Regions from separate parts of the Homo sapiens genome. Here all the other regions are linked to region 1. Evidence: promoter capture Hi-C in human tissues and cell types (Jung and others, 2019). All regions are on one chromosome and are shown on one strand. Each heading gives the region's core, a stretch centred on a gene start or on the middle of the fragment in contact. The rest is flanking DNA. Distances are from core to core; before and after follow the strand shown.

What was found. The method cuts DNA at HindIII sites, captures the fragments that hold promoters and counts their contacts. A contact is called where the count stands out against the background at its distance.
Region 2: a contact is called between a fragment that was not itself captured here and the fragment with the promoter of ABHD16B in region 1, in 1 of the 25 tissues and cell types used here (lymphoblastoid cells).
Region 3: a contact is called between a fragment that was not itself captured here and the fragment with the promoter of ABHD16B in region 1, in 3 of the 25 tissues and cell types used here (lymphoblastoid cells, spleen and stomach).

The regions. Positions count from the first base shown.
Region 1 is chr20:63,860,078-63,862,779 of GRCh38, forward strand. ABHD16B (abhydrolase domain containing 16B) reads left to right here and starts at 1,421. Exons shown (of 1, transcript NM_080622.4): 1 at 1,421-2,702. The coding sequence starts at 1,464. It overlaps ABHD16B-AS1 (ABHD16B antisense RNA 1), which reads right to left. Exons shown (of 2, transcript NR_165314.1): 2 at 1,138-2,702. The HindIII fragment of the contact is 14,540 bases long and covers 1-2,702 here.
Region 2 is chr20:64,120,728-64,123,621 of GRCh38, forward strand. No RefSeq gene overlaps it. Among named protein-coding and RNA genes, the nearest start is that of NPBWR2, 15 kb to the left of the region's middle. RefSeq lists enhancers at 1-20, 2,387-2,894. The HindIII fragment of the contact is 5,841 bases long and covers 1-2,894 here.
Region 3 is chr20:63,589,005-63,591,704 of GRCh38, forward strand. It overlaps GMEB2 (glucocorticoid modulatory element binding protein 2), which reads right to left. Exons shown (of 10, transcript NM_012384.5): 10 at 1-1,725. The coding sequence ends at 1,085. Among named protein-coding and RNA genes, the nearest start is that of HELZ2, 16 kb to the left of the region's middle. RefSeq lists an enhancer at 1,324-1,493. The HindIII fragment of the contact is 3,144 bases long and covers 1-2,700 here.

The sequences.
Region 1 (2,702 bases), core at 171-2,670:
TCCGTCTCAAAAACAAACAAACAAACAAACAGAAAAAACAGGATATCCAGTTAAATTTGAATTTCAGATAAACAATTTTAAAATAATGTCTCAAGCAGAAGTTGGAACATACTTATACCCAAAAAGTATTTGTTTATTTGTAATTCCAATTTAACTGGCATATTATTCTGTATTTTATCTGGCAACCTAGAATGGGGGTAATAGCCCCCCAAATCGCTCCCTTTGTTAATTGGTCCCTGTCTTCTGTCCCCCAACCCCTAAAGGCAGCAGCTGACTCCCCCAACTAGGGGCGGGGCCTGTTAGGGTCAGGCAGTGCCTCTAACCCAGACGCTGAGCAGGAGAGCAGAGAGGGGGTGCTTCAGCCTGAAACTACCCCTTCCCCAGAAGGCTGGGGTCCCAGGCGGGCCTGGCACCTGGGCTCAGAGGCTCTGGCTGGATTTGCCAAACTCCCTGATTGTAGCATGTTTGTTTCTGGTCTGGGGAGCTGTTGAGTACCTGGAGCTGCCCTCTTCCCTGGGGCTCCTCCTGGCAGGCGGCTTCCGACCCTGCCCTCAGGTGGGCTGGCCCTTTCCAGGGCAGGAGAAAAGATACCTCTCCAGAAAAGAGGGAGGCGCAGCCTGGGAGTGGGGGCTCGACCCAGGAGCGAGAAAGAGGAACCCCAGCCAGGCAGGACCCGCCCCAGAAGGTCACTGCTGTTGCTGGCAGCCAGTGAAAAGAGGATCCAGAAAAGGAGAGGGCTTGTTTCTGGTCAGCACCGAAGAAGGAAGGTGTGGAGAGGAGGGGCCGGGCCGAGAGCAAATACCGCCTTTTTGGTGCAGCAGCAGCCCTGTCTCTGACCCCGGCCGTCCTGGGGAGATGAGGTTTAAACCAGCAGACCCTGAAGGGAAACTTGCAGGACCCACAGCAAGCCTGGTACAGGCGGAGGAGGCCTTGCTGTCCCTTTTTGGCCCGTGGGGCTGTCCATCTTAAATTTAAGGAAGAGGGAGGCGGGGTGCAGGGACTCACACCTGTAATCCCAACACTGTGGGAGGTGGAGGCGGGGTGCAGGGACTCACACCTGTAATCCCAACACTGTGGGAGGTGGAGGCGGGAGGATCGCTTGAGCCCAGGGGTTCAAGACCAGCCTAGGCAGCATAGTGAGACCCCATCTCAATTTAATAAATAAATAAGGAAGAAAGAGGGAGACAGTAGCTGCTCAAATCATGGGTGGGAAAGCTGGGCCTGGGAGCGTTTAGCTGGTGGGGTCTTGGCGAAGGCGGGGGACGGGCAGAACCTTGGGTTCATCATCTCTGGGAACCCTTTGTGCACCCATCACCTAGCAACAGGATGCAGCCTTCCCTCCGCCCTGGAAGGCCAGGTCACAAAGGCCATCAGGGCTTGTCCGGGAGCCGGTATCCCCTAAGACTGCCCTGTGCCTCTCGCGGCGATCCCGGCCCAGCGGCTGGGCGTTAGGGCCACCGCTCATGTGCGTCATCTGCTTCGTGAAGGCGCTGGTGCGCGTGTTCAAGATCTACCTGACCGCCAGCTACACCTACCCATTCCGCGGCTGGCCCGTGGCCTTCCGCTGGGATGACGTGCGCGCCGTGGGCCGGAGCAGCAGCCACCGGGCGCTGACCTGCGCGGCAGCCGCGGCGGGCGTGTGGTTGCTGCGGGACGAGACGCTGGGCGGGGATGCGCTGGGGCGGCCTCCACGTGGGGCGCGCAGCCAGGCGCAGTGCCTCTTGCAGCAGCTCCGCGAGCTGCCCGGCCAGCTCGCTAGCTACGCGCTGGCCCACTCGCTGGGCCGCTGGCTCGTGTACCCCGGCTCCGTGTCCCTGATGACGCGCGCGCTGCTGCCGCTGCTGCAGCAGGGCCAAGAGCGCCTCGTGGAGCGCTACCACGGCCGGCGCGCCAAGCTGGTGGCCTGTGACGGCAACGAGATCGACACTATGTTCATGGACCGCCGCCAGCACCCGGGCAGCCACGTGCACGGGCCGCGCCTCGTCATCTGCTGCGAAGGCAACGCGGGCTTCTACGAGATGGGCTGTCTGTCTGCACCGCTCGAGGCCGGCTACTCCGTGCTGGGCTGGAACCACCCCGGCTTCGGCAGCAGCACTGGCGTGCCCTTCCCTCAGCACGACGCCAACGCCATGGACGTGGTGGTCGAGTACGCACTGCACCGCCTGCACTTCCCGCCCGCGCACCTGGTGGTCTACGGCTGGTCTGTTGGCGGCTTCACGGCCACCTGGGCCACCATGACCTACCCGGAGCTGGGTGCACTGGTGCTGGACGCCACCTTCGACGACCTTGTGCCGCTGGCGCTGAAGGTCATGCCCCACAGTTGGAAGGGGCTGGTGGTGCGCACCGTGCGCGAGCACTTCAACCTCAACGTGGCCGAGCAGCTGTGCTGCTACCCGGGGCCGGTGCTGCTGCTCCGACGCACGCAGGATGACGTGGTCAGCACTTCGGGCCGCCTGCGCCCCCTGTCACCTGGTGACGTGGAGGGCAACCGGGGCAATGAGCTGCTGCTGCGCCTGCTGGAGCACCGCTACCCCGTCGTGATGGCGCGAGAGGGCCGCGCCGTCGTCACCCGCTGGCTGCGCGCTGGCAGCTTGGCGCAGGAGGCCGCCTTCTATGCACGCTACCGCGTGGACGAGGACTGGTGCCTGGCGCTGCTGCGCTCCTACCGTGCACGCTGCGAAGAGGAGCTGGAGGGCGAGGAG
Region 2 (2,894 bases), core at 109-2,608, 260 kb after region 1:
TGATGATTTAAGGATGCTGTGGTTTGAATATTTGTCACCTCCAAAACTCAAGTTGGAATTTAATCCCCAATGTGGCAGTATTGAGAGGTGGGGCCTTTAAGAGGTGATTGGGTCACAAGAGCTCTGCCCTCATGAATAGATTAATTTATTTATAGATTAATGGGTTATCATAGGAGTGGGGCTAGTAGCTTTATAAGAAGAGAGAGACCTGAGCCAGCACGCTCAGCCCCTCACCATGCGACGCCCTGCACTGCCTTGGGACTCTGGGGTTCCCACCAGCAAGAAAACCTCACCAGATGTGGCCCATTGACCTTGGACTTCCCAGCCCGCAGAACTGTAAGAAATACATTTTGTTTCTTTTAAATTACCCAGTTTCTGTTATAAGCAGCAGGAAACAGACTAAGACAAGGGGCAAGCCAGCCTCTGCCCACAAGGAGCTCCATTCTGGTGTGGAGAGACCCAAACACACAACTATGCTCTTTGTCTTGCTAGAGACTTGTTTTGTGGTGGCCCCAACCTCAACTTGCCAGCAATTTGTAAAAGAACCAAGTCAATTTTACACAGCAAATTAAACCCCAGGGTAAATGTGTGTACCTGGATTCCAATAGTAGGTAAAGATTCTTAATGGTGAAAACTATGACTCCTGTTAAAACTCTTGTGTTCTGTTCTTACCACTGAGTTTAAACAACAACTCTGTGCTAATCGTATAAAGAATATTTTTGTCTGGACTGTCTACGGCCAAGTTCTCCACCCTGGATGTGCACAGAATCCCCTGGGGACTTCAGGAGCTCACTGGAGCTGGTTCCACCCCCATGCCCAGGCTCTGATGTGCTTGGTCTGGGCTGGGGCCTGGGCACCAGTGTTGTCCTAGTTTTGTGTTGCTATGAAGGAATATCTGAGGCTGGGTAATTTCTTTTTCTTTTTCCTAGGTGAGGAGAAGGATAGAGGCTGGGCCATTATAAAGAAAAGAGGTTTGTTTGGCTCACGGTTCTGCAGGGTGTACGGGAAGCACGGTGCCGGCACCTGCTTCTGGGGAGGCCTCAGGGAGCGTGCACTCATGGCGGGAGGTGTCTCATGGTAAGAGAAGAGGCGAGAGAGAGGGGCGATGCCAGGATTTTTTTAAAACAACCAGCTCGTGTGGGAACTAATAGAGCAAGAACTCACTCATCACCATGAGGAGGGCACTAAACCATTCATTCTGGATCCTTCCCTATGACCCGAACACCTCCCACCAGGCCCCGCCTCCAACATCGGGGATTAAATTTCAACATGAGGTTCGGGGACAAACGTCCAAACTATAGCAGGTATTTCTGAAGAACACCCAGGTGTTTCAAAGCTGGGGTGAAGCCGTGGGTTAACACTGTTTTTCAGACATGGCTGGAGACCTGGGGTTCCTACACCACAGAGTCTCCCTGCCAGAGTTCTCAGCTCCTGGGGAGGCTGAGGTGGGTGGATCACTTGAGGTCAGGAGTTTGAGATCAGCCTGGCCAACATGGTGAAACCCCGTCTCTACTAAAAATACAAAAAATGTAGCCAGGCGTGGTGGCACACACCTGTAATTCCAGCTACTCAGGAGGCTGAGGCACGAGAATCACTTGATCCTGGGAGGCGGAGGTTGCAGTGAGCTGAGATCTCACTACTGCACTCCAGCCTGGGTGACGGAGTGAGACACTGTCAAAAAAAAAAAAAAAAAGAAAGAAGAAAGAGAAGTATCATGATAAAAGAAATAATATTTTAAAAAAAGACAGTGTGGTATTTGCATCAAGATAGACAGATCAATAGAACAAATTAGAGATACCAGAAATAGACCCACAAATATGAGCAAGTGATTTTCAACAAAGCTGCAAAGGCAATTCAATAAAGGCAAGTTTTGTTCTCAGTAAATGATGCTAAACAGTTGGATATCCATATGCAAAAAAATGAACTTTGATCCATACCTTGTACTATATTAAAATATTGTCAATATGGATCATAAACCTAAATGTAAAAGCTAAAATTATAAAACTTCTATAAGAGGACATAGAAGAAAACCTTTGCAAACTTAGATCAGGCAAAACATTATTAGATAGGATATCAAAACATAATCCATCAAATAAATAAGATGTTTCATCAAAACTAAGAACTTCTGCTATTCCAAAGACACTGCTAAGAAAATGAAAAGACAAGCCCAAGGCTGTAAGACAATTTTTGCAAATCACATATTTGATAAAGGACTTGTATCCAGAGTATATCAAGAACTCTCAAAACTCAATAACGTTAATGGAAAAAAACAGATTCTGTAAAATATTTTAAAGAGGTTTATTCTGAGTCAATATGAATGACCATGGCCTGGAGAAAACAGTTTCGAGAGGTTCTGAGAAAGCCTGGAGAACACAGTTTCGAGTTTCCTGAGAAAGCCTGGAGAACAGTTTCGAGAGGTCCTGAGAAAGCCTGGAGAACACAGTTTTGAGTTTCCTTAGAAAGCCTGGAGAACACAGTTTCGAGAGGTGCTGAGAAAGCCTGGAGAACACGGTTTCGAGAGCTCCTGGGAAAGCCTGGAGAACACGGTTTCGAGAGGTCCTGAGAAAGCCTGGAGAACACGATTTCGAGAGGTCCTGAGAAAGCCTGGAGAACACGGTTTCGAGAGGTCCTGAGAAAGCCTGGAGAACATGGTTTCGAGAGGTCCTGGGAAAGCCTGGAGAACACAGTTTCGAGTTTCCTGAGAAAGCCTGGAGAACAGTTTCGAGAGGTCCTGAGAAAGCCTGGAGAACACAGTTTCGAGAGGTCCTGGGAAAGCCTGGAGAACACGGTTTCGAGAGGTCCTGAGAAAGCCTGGAGAACACAGTTTTGAGTTTCCTGAGAAAGCCTGGAGAACACAGTTTCGAGAGGTCCTGGGAAAGCCTGGAGAACACGGT
Region 3 (2,700 bases), core at 16-2,515, 270 kb before region 1:
TCTCCCTTGGACAGAGACCACCAAGGGCCAGCCCAGGGGCTGCATGGGGGCCGGGGGCCAGGGAGCCAAGGGCTGTTCCGTGGCCAAGCAGCCCAAGCTGAAGGGCCCACATGGGAATCCTCGACCTCCATAGTGACTGGTTCTGTTTATGCCTCTGCCCCAGGACTGAAGCCCTAGGGACACACCTCATGGATCTCAGACCCCTGGGAGGGGCCGGCTCAGGGACAGGCTGCCCAGGACCTCCGCACCCGGTCAAGTGCACTCACAGGGGCTCAGGGGCCACCCAAAGAGCTAACTCGGGAAGCCTAGGCACTCACCATTATTTTGGTTGAAAATGCTATAAATCTGACTCTTCCTAGAAGCCTACTAAGCAATTCACTTAAAAACACCCTCAGTACATGTGCAACAATGCCTGGACCACGCCTCGTCTGTGCGGCCCCTGGGCCACCTGAGCACCGGCTGGGGGCGGGGGAGGCAGGCACCCATCAGGATCTGCACCCCAAGCTCCGGGTGCATGTTCCCAACTGGAGGAGAACGGGGCGCCAGCCACACTAAACCTACAGAAAACTGTGGGAAGAAACCAAATCCATAGGATCCAGAGGTTTCACACTTGGGCTTAGCTCCCAAGTCATGAGTTAGTAACGTCCCCAGGGACCTGGCTGGGTGCAGACATGGGGGCCTCGTGACCTGCTGCACCGCGTCCAGCACCTGCAGGGTCGCGCTCGGCACCTGGCTCTGCTTCCTCTGTCTCTGCTGCACCCAGGCTCCCCCTAGCCCCCGCCCACCTGGCTCCTGATCAAGGCCCAATGTGTAAACAGTATTAATAAGCAACAGATGGAAAAATATATTTCCCAAGAAAAAAGGGGGAGGAAACGTGGGACCTGAAGACCGATTTTCCAGGTTGCTCTCGCTGTTCTGTCCCCTTCTCTCTTCTCGTGATTTGTTTTGGCGATTCCTCTCTTTGGTTCTGCAGACCACGTGACCCACCTGCCCGAGCCAGCCCTGCGGCCTCTGCCCGCTCCCTGCTGCCGCGGCTGAGAGACAGCCAGCCCTGTCCGTCCCAGGGGCCTCGCCCTCCTGTCGGCTACTTCCGCTCGTGGTCCTCTGCCATGGCAGCCACCTCAATGGTGGCCGTGTGCTCCTCAGGCCCGGGGGCAGCCCCTGCGGGCACTGTCACAATTGTGCTGGAGCCAGGCGAGGCCTGGGCCACGTTCTGCAGGGTGGGGCCCAGGCCAGGCAACGTGAGCAGCTGTAGCGGGCTGACCACCTTGAACACCGTGCTACCGTCCTGCACGGCGGCCGTGCTCAGGACCGTGAGGCTGGACGCGTCCGGGTGGATCTCCACTGTGCTGGGGTAGGTGGAGCCGGAAGAGGCCAAGACTGTGTATCCCCCGAGCAGCGGGGAGGCCGGGGAGCTGGCGGGGGGCGCCTGAAGGGAACCCTTGCCCAGGACGGTGGACGGCAGGGTGGACACCACTTTACCAAGGGGCACGCTGGTCAGCTGGGGGACGGGCACGCCCGGGCCAAGCGCCAGCTGGGCAGACTGGGTGAGCACCTGCGAGGCCATGGCGGCCGGTCCTGATGTGGCACGTGCAAGCCGGGGCCGCTTCACAGGCGGTGGCAGGGAGACCGGCGTCAGCGTCATGAGCACGTTGCTGAGGTGCTGGGACTTGTGCTTCAGCTCCTTGGCTCGGCGACGATGCTCATCACACTGCTGCTCCAGGGCTGCAGGGAGGTACAGATGGCATCACACAGGGGACGGGGGCATGGATGGCGGCATGCAGGGGATGGGGGCAGACACGCCACACCATCTGGGTGGCCCCTGGGTCAGTGGCAACCCAGGTCTGCTCACCTGATGCCACAAACCCAGATGACCACATGGCCGCCAAAGGTGAGGTCTGTGGGAGACGGGGCCCAAGATGGCCCTCGGGGTAGACACCAGCCTGTGCTGACCCAGGGTCTGCACTGACCCGGGGCCTGTGTGCAAGCGTGGCAATCCCGTCTCAGACCCTCCTGCACTGACCCAGGGCCTGCGTGCAAGCGTGGAAATGCCGTCTCAGATCCCCGCATGAGCTTTCACACACCCAGCGTGGAAAGTTGCTCTTGTGACATATTAAGAGAGAGAGGAGGAAAAGCAGCACATGTGGCACATGTGTTTAAACATAAACATGCACACACACATGCAGAGTGCACACACACAATGAACACAAACAGTGAACACACAAAGTGAAGAGTGAACACACAGTGCACACACACTGAATACACACACACTGAACACAGTGAACACACACACTGAATACACACACATTGAACACACAGTGAACACGCAGTGAACACACACACACTGAACACACACACAGTGAACACACAGTAAGCACAGACCCCAAGAGGAGCATGGAGGAAACGCACCAATATCAGGGGCTTGAGCTCTGAGCGGGGTCAGGACCAGCCCTTCCCATTCTCTGTCATTGTTTTTTTTTGAGACAGGGTCTCGCTCTGTCACCCAGACTGGAGTGCAGTGGTGTGATCTCAGCTCCCTGCAACTTCCACCTCCTGGGCTCAAGCAATTGCCTGCCAGCCTCCCGAGTAGCTGGGATTACAGGCACACACCACCATGCCCAGTTTTGTTTTGTTTTTTTCAGCAGAGATGGGGTTTCACCACGTTGGCCAGGCTGGTCTCAAACTCCTAGCCTGAAGTGA